Linked DNA regions of Homo sapiens: region 1 is linked to region 2. Evidence: promoter capture Hi-C in 16 types of primary human blood cells and fetal thymus (Javierre and others, 2016). All regions are on one chromosome and are shown on one strand. Each heading gives the region's core, a stretch centred on a gene start or on the middle of the fragment in contact. The rest is flanking DNA. Distances are from core to core; before and after follow the strand shown.

Region 1 (4,225 bases), core at 925-3,424, 520 kb after region 2:
CTAGAAGCCCACGGGAAACGTCGACCCTCACTTCCCCCATCCCCAATGCACAGGGACAGCTGTCACTGAGTCCCGCTGCCCCCTCTCTTGTTTGTCCATCTCCTCCCCGCTGCCCCTGACTCGTTCAGACTGAGTCCATCTCTTTTCTGCTACAATCTTCTCATTTGTCCCTGGGTCTCTTTCTCCTGGGTTCTTCTCCCTACAGGGTTACCAGAATTTTCTTCCCAGAACATAGATAGCTCTACCACTCCCTTGCTGAAAAGTGTTTCGTTTTGTTTACAGGATGAGAGTCCAAGCTGATTTGTATGCCATTCAGAACTCTTCCCAACTGGCACCCTGCTCACTTTTCCTTTCTTTTATTCTCTTTCATTCTTTTCTATTTTAAATTGATAGACTATTTTTAGAGCAGTTTTATGTTTACAGAAAAATGAACAGAAGGCACAGAGAGTTCCCAAACAGCCCCTTACCCTGCCCTCTAGTTTACCCTGCTAGTAACGTCTGGCATCAATGTGGTACATTCGCTACAACTGATGAGCCAATATTGACACAGTATATATATATATATATATTTTGTTTTTTGAGACAGAGTCTAGCTTTGTCGCCCAGGCTAGAGTGCAGTTGCACAATCTTGGCTCACTGCAACCTCCAGCTCTCGGGTTCAAGCGATGCTCTTGCTTCAGCCTCCCAAGTAGCTGGGATTACAGGTGCCCACCATCATGCCTGGCTAATTTTTGTATTTTTAGTAGAAACGGGGTTTCATCATGTTGGCCAGCCTGTCTTGAACTCCTGACCTCAAGTGATCCACCCGCCTCGGCCTCCCAAAGTGCTGGGATTATGGATGTGAGCCACCGAGCCCGGCCTGATACAGTATTATTAACTAAAGTTCATAGTTTATACTCTGTGTTGGATATCCTGTGGGTATACCTATATGTATAATGACAAGCCATTGTAGTATCATAGAGAATACTTTTACTGTCCTAGAGGTTCTGTGCTCCACCTATTCACCCACCCACCCTAGCCCCCAGAAATCACTGATCCTATTGTGTCCATACTTTTGCCTTTCGTAAAATGTCACATAGTTGGAATCATTCAGTGTGTAGCCTTTTCAGATTGGCTTTTTTAAACTTAGTAATGTGCATTTAAGGTTTCTTCCTGTCTTTTCCAAGCTTGATGACACATTTCTTTTTATCACTGAACAATATTCCATTTTCTGGATATACCAGGTTATTTATCCATTCACCCACTGAAGGACATCTTAGTTGATTCTAAAGTTTGGCAGTTATGAACATAGCTGCTATAAATATTTGTGTGCAGTCTTTTGTGTAGACATAAGTTTTTAACTCATTTGGCTAAAGACATTTTAAAATGTAATTTTTCATTTTGAATAGGTAATCATATATTTATGTGGTTCAAAGATTGAATGATATTTAAAAGGTTCACAGTAAGAAGTCTTCCTCCCTTGTCTCCATCCTGTATAACTCTTATTAATTTCATGCATATCCTTCAAGTATTTTATGCAAATCCAAAAAAACTGAATATCAGGCCTTATTTTCTATTGTTTTGTGTGAATGCAGCACATTATGTATACTACTATTAAACATGATTTTTTAATATATAACTTTGAACTTACAGAAAAGTTCTGCACTTTCCTATTTTCACTTAACATTTTCTAAAGATTTTTCTATAGAGATTGTCCTTATTTTTTTCTTACAGCTACATAGTAATCCATTGTGGAGATGTACCATAGTTCATTTAATTAGTGCTCTATTGGTAGATGCTTGGACTCCTTCCAGTATTTTGCTAGTCCAGAAAGTGCAGCTGTGGAGAACCTTGTACATAAGTCATTTTGTGCATGTGTAGATACCATTGGATGTACTTCCAAATGTAGCATCATTGGGTCATAGGGTAAAGCTTTTATAAGAATTGACCTCCGTAAGGGTTATACAATTTCCTGCTTACTTTTCTATTCTCATTGTTAGCTCTGCCCTCTCAGCTTGTACCCTAGGCCCCAGCTACACTGAACTGCTTGCCTTTTCTTGAACAAATAACACACTTGCATTTTTCTGTGCTTTTGCTCTTTCTGTCCTTTGCTGAGAAGATCCTTCTTCTCCCCTCCTCTCATCTACTTGGTAGACTCCTGTTTATCCTTCCAGGCCTCAACACCAATATCCACTCCTCCCTTTAGCCTGATACTCCTCTATGCATGTCAATTGAAATTTACAACCACCTGAAACTAGGAGGATGAGTTCTGGCCCAGGAGAGAGGGGTCCTAGGTTCGTGTTTTGCCTCTCCCTTTATAGTGTCTTGGGCCTTTGAGCCTCTCTGAAACTCAGTTTCTTTATTTGCCAGATAGAGATCATAATACCCCCTCTGCCTGCATTACAGGCTTTAGTGAGACACACGTGAGCTGATGCATGAAAGCACTTTGTAAAGCTTTAAGGAGAACATTGTGAAGAAGGATTTTTTTTTTTTTTTTAAAGAATTGACTAATGAGAATTGCTGTGACTCCGGGTCTCAGTTCCAAAACTGTCTTTGGCACATCACATACTACTGAATCTGCTTTTCAAACTTACTCTTACCCCTTTAGTTCCCTTACAGTTACATCTGTCTCCATCTCCTATACTTGTACCAAGTACAGAATGATGGGTTCTTTCCATATTTAGGTCTAGGAGCCACAATTACTATCATGTAACTTTTATACAAGCAACTATTAAAATACAGACTTTTTTAAACTATGAAGAGTAAGAACTTTTCATAAAAACCCATCTATTCCTCAGCCATTTCATGACATTTTATGTTATTTTATGTTATTTTATTTTATTTTATTTTATGTTTGAGACAGTCTCACTCTGTCACCCAGGCTGGAGTGCAGTGGCATGATCTCAGCTCACTGCAACCTCTGCCTCCTGGGTTCAAGCAATTCTCCTGCCTCAGCCTCCCAAGTAGCTGGGATTACAGGCATGTGCCACCATAGCCGGCTAATTTTCGTATTTTTGGTAGAGACAGAGTTTCATCATGTTGGCCAGGCTGGTCTCAAAACTCCTGAGCTCAAGTGATCCACCCACCTTGGCTTCCCAAAGTGTTGGGATTACAGGCGTGAGCCACCATGCCTGGCCCATTTCATGACATTTTAAACATGTGTCCTGAGGTTTCCCTAGAAACCTCATACTTGAGTGTTGAGGTCCCAGGAAATCATTTTCTGAGAATATAACCCTCTATTATATAATTTATTATATAATAATTTAATTATATATAAACAATTATCTAATAATTATATAATTTAATTACATATACATAATTATATTTAATAATTGTATAATTTAATTATATGTAAATAATTATATTATTTAATAATTACAGTGTTTAATAATTATATGAAACTAATTATATACTAGGTGGTTATATTCTCAGAAAATGATTTCCTGGGACCTCAACACTCTCAAGTATGAGGTTTCTAGGGCAACCTCTGGACACATGCAAAAACCATGGAAAAAGTCGTGTGGACTCCTCATTCATCCACTCACCCACCTGCCAACTGATCCCCCTTTCCAGGCGGTTCTCCCTTCAACTTGTCCACTTAGCCTCTCTCCATCTTCTTGTCAGTCAGTCCCATCCAGCCATCATCTCCATATGTCAAGTTCACTGTATTTAAGACTAGAAGAGTAAGAAATAAGATCCTCCAGTGGGGGGGTCAGCCCCCCGCCCGGCCAGCCGCTCCGTCCGGGAGGGAGGTGGGGGGGTCAGCCCCCTGCCCGGCCAGCCGCCCCATCCGGGAGGTGAGGGGCGCCTCTGCCCGGCGGCCCCTACTGGGAAGTGAAGAGCCCCTCTGCCCGGCCAGCCGCCCCGTCCGGGAGGTGAGGGGCGCCTCTGCCCGGCCGCCCCTACTGGGAAGTGAGGAGCCCCTCTGCCCGGCCACCACCCCGTCTGGGAGGTGTGCCCAACAGCTCACTGAGAACGGGCCAGGATGACAATGGCGGCTTTGTGGAATAGAAAGGCGGGAAAGGTGGGGAAAAGATTGAGAAATCGGATGGTTGCCGTGTCTGTGTAGAAAGAAGTAGACATGGGAGACTTTTCATTTTGTTCTGCACTAAGAAAAATTCTTCTGCCTTGGGATCCTGTTGATCTGTGACCTTACCCCCAACCCTGTGCTCTCTGAAACATGTGCTGTGTCCACTCAGGGTTAAATGGATTAAGGGCGGTGCAAGATGTGCTTTGTTAAACAGAT
Region 2 (3,915 bases), core at 878-3,377:
AGCCTGGGGAGGAGGGGAGAGGTTAGATGGGTCCATAGAAAAGGAGGATTCACAGGACTCAGAGCTTGGGGTGGAGACTGAAGGAACAGACAGGAGAGAAAGAAGATTTGGGATGAGTCACATTGGGAGCAGAGATTAGGAAGGGACCAATGTGTAAAAGAATGCCTGGACATCAGGCACCTCAGACTATTTGCCCATTTTACGACAATAATTATCTAGCTCATGTAGGATGGAGAAATTGAAAGTGCCGTTTTCTGGCTATTTGGAACCATTGTTGAGTCTGTATTGGGGTCAAACGGTATTGCAGAAGAAAATAAGGCGTTTAGGTTTTAGGTCAGGTGTGAGTTGAAGAGGTTTTAAGTTCTTGAGAACACAGGCTAAGGGAGAAGAAGGGGGAATGGAGGGTGGAAGGTTGCCCATAGTGAAGGAGGCAAGCCCAGAGAAAAGAAGGTAGAGACCCGGAGAAGGGGGGTGGTGAGCAGCCCTGGGCTGCAATGTGGCTGAGCAGCCAAAGCAGGCGACCCACAATTGACTTGCCACCAAGGGAATGTGGGTGAATGACCAAGGCAGGCATCCCCACGGTGATCAGACACCAATGAAATGTACGTGAATAATCAGGCAGGTGTCCCTGCAGTGATTAAACACCAAGGGACGACTGTTTTCCTGAGTCCGTGACCGGAGCTGGAGTTTTGGGTCCATGGATAAAATATGTCTCCTTTGTCTCTACTAGAGAGGAGAAAGAACTGGAATTGGAAATAGAGGGAGATTTAAGGGTAGTGAGAGAGGCTGGAGAAGACAGTGAAAAGACCGCTTACCCGATTTGAAATTGGTGAGATGTTCCTTGGGCTGTTTGGTCTGAGGACCCGAGGTCATAGGTGGATCTCCTCACAGAGTGAGGGTGAGGACAGGGGACTGGTCTCCTGAAGGAGTCCTCCTGTCCCGGGTCTTCGGCACCAAATGTCACACGTGTCCGTGTGAAGAGACCACCAAAAGGCTTTGCGTGAGCAATAAAGCTGTTTATTTCACCTGGGTGCAGGTGGGCCGAGTACGAAAAAAAGAGTCAGCAAAGGGAGTTAGGGGTGTGGTAGCTTTATAGGATTTGTGTGGGTAGTGGAAAATTACAGTCAAAGGGGGTTGTTCTCTGGTGGGCAAGGCGGGGGCCGGGGGGGTGGAAGGTCTACAAAGTGCTCAGTGGGGGAGCTTCTGAGCCAGGAGAAGGAATTTCACAAGGTAATGTCATCAGTTAAGGCAGGAACCAGCCATTTTCACTACCTTTGTGATTCCTCAGTTGCTTCAGGCCATCTGGATGTATACATGCAGGCTTGGGCTCAGAGGCCTGACACAAGTTGGCACATTTGATCCTATCAACTTTAGTTTGCACTTTCACTTTTGATTTAAGAACATACTTTCTGTTTCTCAGAGGGCAGCCTCTGATGGGAATTTTAATACTCACAAGCATCAGTGGCTATATGATTGAATGTACTTCTTCAGTGTGAGTAAGTGACAACTTTCTGTAGCATGATATCCCTTATGGACACGATCCCCATTCAAAACGTTTTAAAACTATTTTATTGGGGACATTTATTAGCATGTTAAAACTCTTTTACAACCTATTAGAGCATATGCATAGAACATAAAATGTACACTGCCAAGAACAAATTTAAGGATAGGAAGAAAAGCTTACATTTTTTAAAAAGTATAAATTGAAATGTATGCAGTGTAATTTAAATTTGATTACGTTAACCTCCATTTCATCAGGACCACGTGTCGCGTTTTAACAAGAGTTTCCCTATCATGTCCAGGCTTTGGCTCTGGTTGCAGGCGCTGGGTAGGCACTTTTACGAGGAGGGACCTGGCACGATGGCACCACAAATTCCCAAGTGTGTCACCTCTGGGCGAACTTGGGCCTGTCCACTCGGCCCTGCGCGGTGGCCAGGGGCTCACCCTCTCGCACCGGGCGTCCCTCTGCGCGCAGCTTCTCTCGCCCCCCCGCGCCAGACCCGGGCGAATGGCAGCACCGTGGGACCCTGCCTTGACCGCCCCCGCCCTTCGGCGGCCTCTCCCAGCAGCCGGCAGGCTCTTGGGCGCGCCAACAGAGGGGCGCGGCTGCGGCTGTAGTCGCAGCCAGTTCCCGTTCCGGGCCCGCGAGGCAGCCGCCCCGGTCCTGCCCCTCCCTCGCGCTACTGCGGGAGCAGCGTCCTCCCGGGCCACGGCGCTTCCCGGCCCCGGCGTCCCCGGACCATGGCGCTCTCCGGGCTCTTCTCTAGCTCTCAGCGGCTGCGAAGTCTGTAAACCTGGTGGCCAAGTAAGTCCCAGCGACTGGGGATTCGCGCGGGGCAGGCCCTTTCTGAGGTCCTGGGCGCTGCGAGTGAGGAGGCGCAGGGAGGCGGGATTTGCGTGCGGGCGGAACGCAGCGCGGCTCTGGAGGAGCTCTGGGTGGAACCAAGCGGAGAAACCCGCGAGTTTGAAGCATGTAGCGAAAGTTGAGAGGGATGAACTTCACAGTCAGCGGAATCGTTTATCCCACTGTGGTCGAACGCAGGGGTTCTCAATCGTGCCAGCAGCTTAGAACCACCTGGGGAGCTTTTAAAATCCAGATATCCAGGCTGCACCCTAGATCAATTCCATCAGAATCTCACGGAGTCAGACCCAGGCCTCCGTATCTTTTAAAAGCTCCCCAAGTGATTCCAGTGTGCAGCCAGCGTTCGAGGGTTTGTGGCAAAGGCTGGAAGGGCAGACAGGGGCCTTCATGGAGTCCCGCCTGCAGACGGGACAGCAGCTCCCAGTGTCCTGCTTGGTCCTGGAGAGAGGGTGAGAACTTCCCTTGGGTTTCATGCTCCACAAAGTAAGGAAATGAGACAATGCTTGGCAAGGTCGCCTGAATATCACATTCAAAAACGCCTCCAATGTGTGCAGTTGTTTTGGCACATTGTGAAAAACATAGGAAATGACAGAGGTTGATGTCTCATTAGCTCTGCATTCTAGGAAACATTTCGGTTGTTGGTGTTTGAAATTAAGTCTGGGGAAGCTAAGCTAGTAAACCCATGGCCTTGATGACTTCTGGCCTTTCTGCTTTAAGGGTGAAGCCAGGGCCGGGCGCGGTGGCTCACGCCTGTAATCCCAGCACTTTGGGAGGCCAAGGCAGGCGGATCACCTGAGGTCGAGAGTTCGAGACCAGCCTGGCCCAACATGGTGAAACCGTCTCTACTAAAAAAAAAAAAAAAAAAAATTAACCGGGCGTGGTGGCGCATGCCTGTAATCCCAGCTACTCGGGAGGCTGAAGCAGGAGAATTGCTTGAACCCGGGAGGCAGAGGTTGCAGTGAGCCGAGATCGCCCTGTTGCGCTCCAGCCTGGGCAACAAGAGCAAAACTCCGTCAAAAACAAACAAACAAACAAAAAACAAAAAAACGGTGAAGCCAGAAGTCGTGCTTGCCAAAGGGTCGAGTTTGTTCTCCCTCAAAGCCCCTGTTGAAGATTGAACTATCACTTTCAGGGAAGAGTAAAAGAGTAACTCCACGATGCATCTTAGAGAGGAGTGGATTCCCTGTTCTCACCCAGGCTTAGATGCCAGGGGCCAGGTAGCTGAAATCCAGGCAAACCAGGCATTGACAAAGTACAGACTTCTACCGAATATGCCAGACAGATAAGCAAGCTGTGTTTAAAACAAACAGCAGAGTGGTAGAAGAGGGCTCTTTCAAATATTGTAAGAAGAGTAGGTTTTATTTTTGTGGAGTGGAGAAATAAGTTCACGCTTTGGAACCCATCAAATCTGGGTCAAAACTCGGATTCTGTCACTTCTATGCTGTGACTTTGGGCAAGTTCCTTGACCTCTCCAAGCCCCTGTTTTCCCACCTGTAAAATAAAGAGCAACCCTCTCCTGAGGCTAGCATAGTTCAGCGAGATGATGTGCATCA

What was found. Contacts are between HindIII fragments. The CHiCAGO score rates a contact against its expected background, and 5 or more counts as called.
Region 1: a fragment that was not itself captured here is called in contact with the fragment with the promoter of NOD1 in region 2 in 6 of 17 cell types (neutrophils, total B cells, naive B cells and 3 more); the score reaches 9.5 in neutrophils.

The regions. Positions count from the first base shown.
Region 1 is chr7:29,961,296-29,965,520 of GRCh38, reverse strand. All of the region lies in intron 2 of SCRN1 (secernin 1), which reads left to right. Among named protein-coding and RNA genes, the nearest start is that of FKBP14-AS1, 25 kb to the left of the region's middle. RefSeq lists an enhancer at 4,067-4,225. The HindIII fragment of the contact is 522 bases long and covers 1,914-2,435 here.
Region 2 is chr7:30,476,996-30,480,910 of GRCh38, reverse strand. NOD1 (nucleotide binding oligomerization domain containing 1) reads left to right here and starts at 2,127. Exons shown (of 14, transcript NM_006092.4): 1 at 2,127-2,305. RefSeq lists a silencer at 1,999-2,238 and an enhancer at 1,887-2,631. The HindIII fragment of the contact is 7,069 bases long and covers 1,682-3,915 here.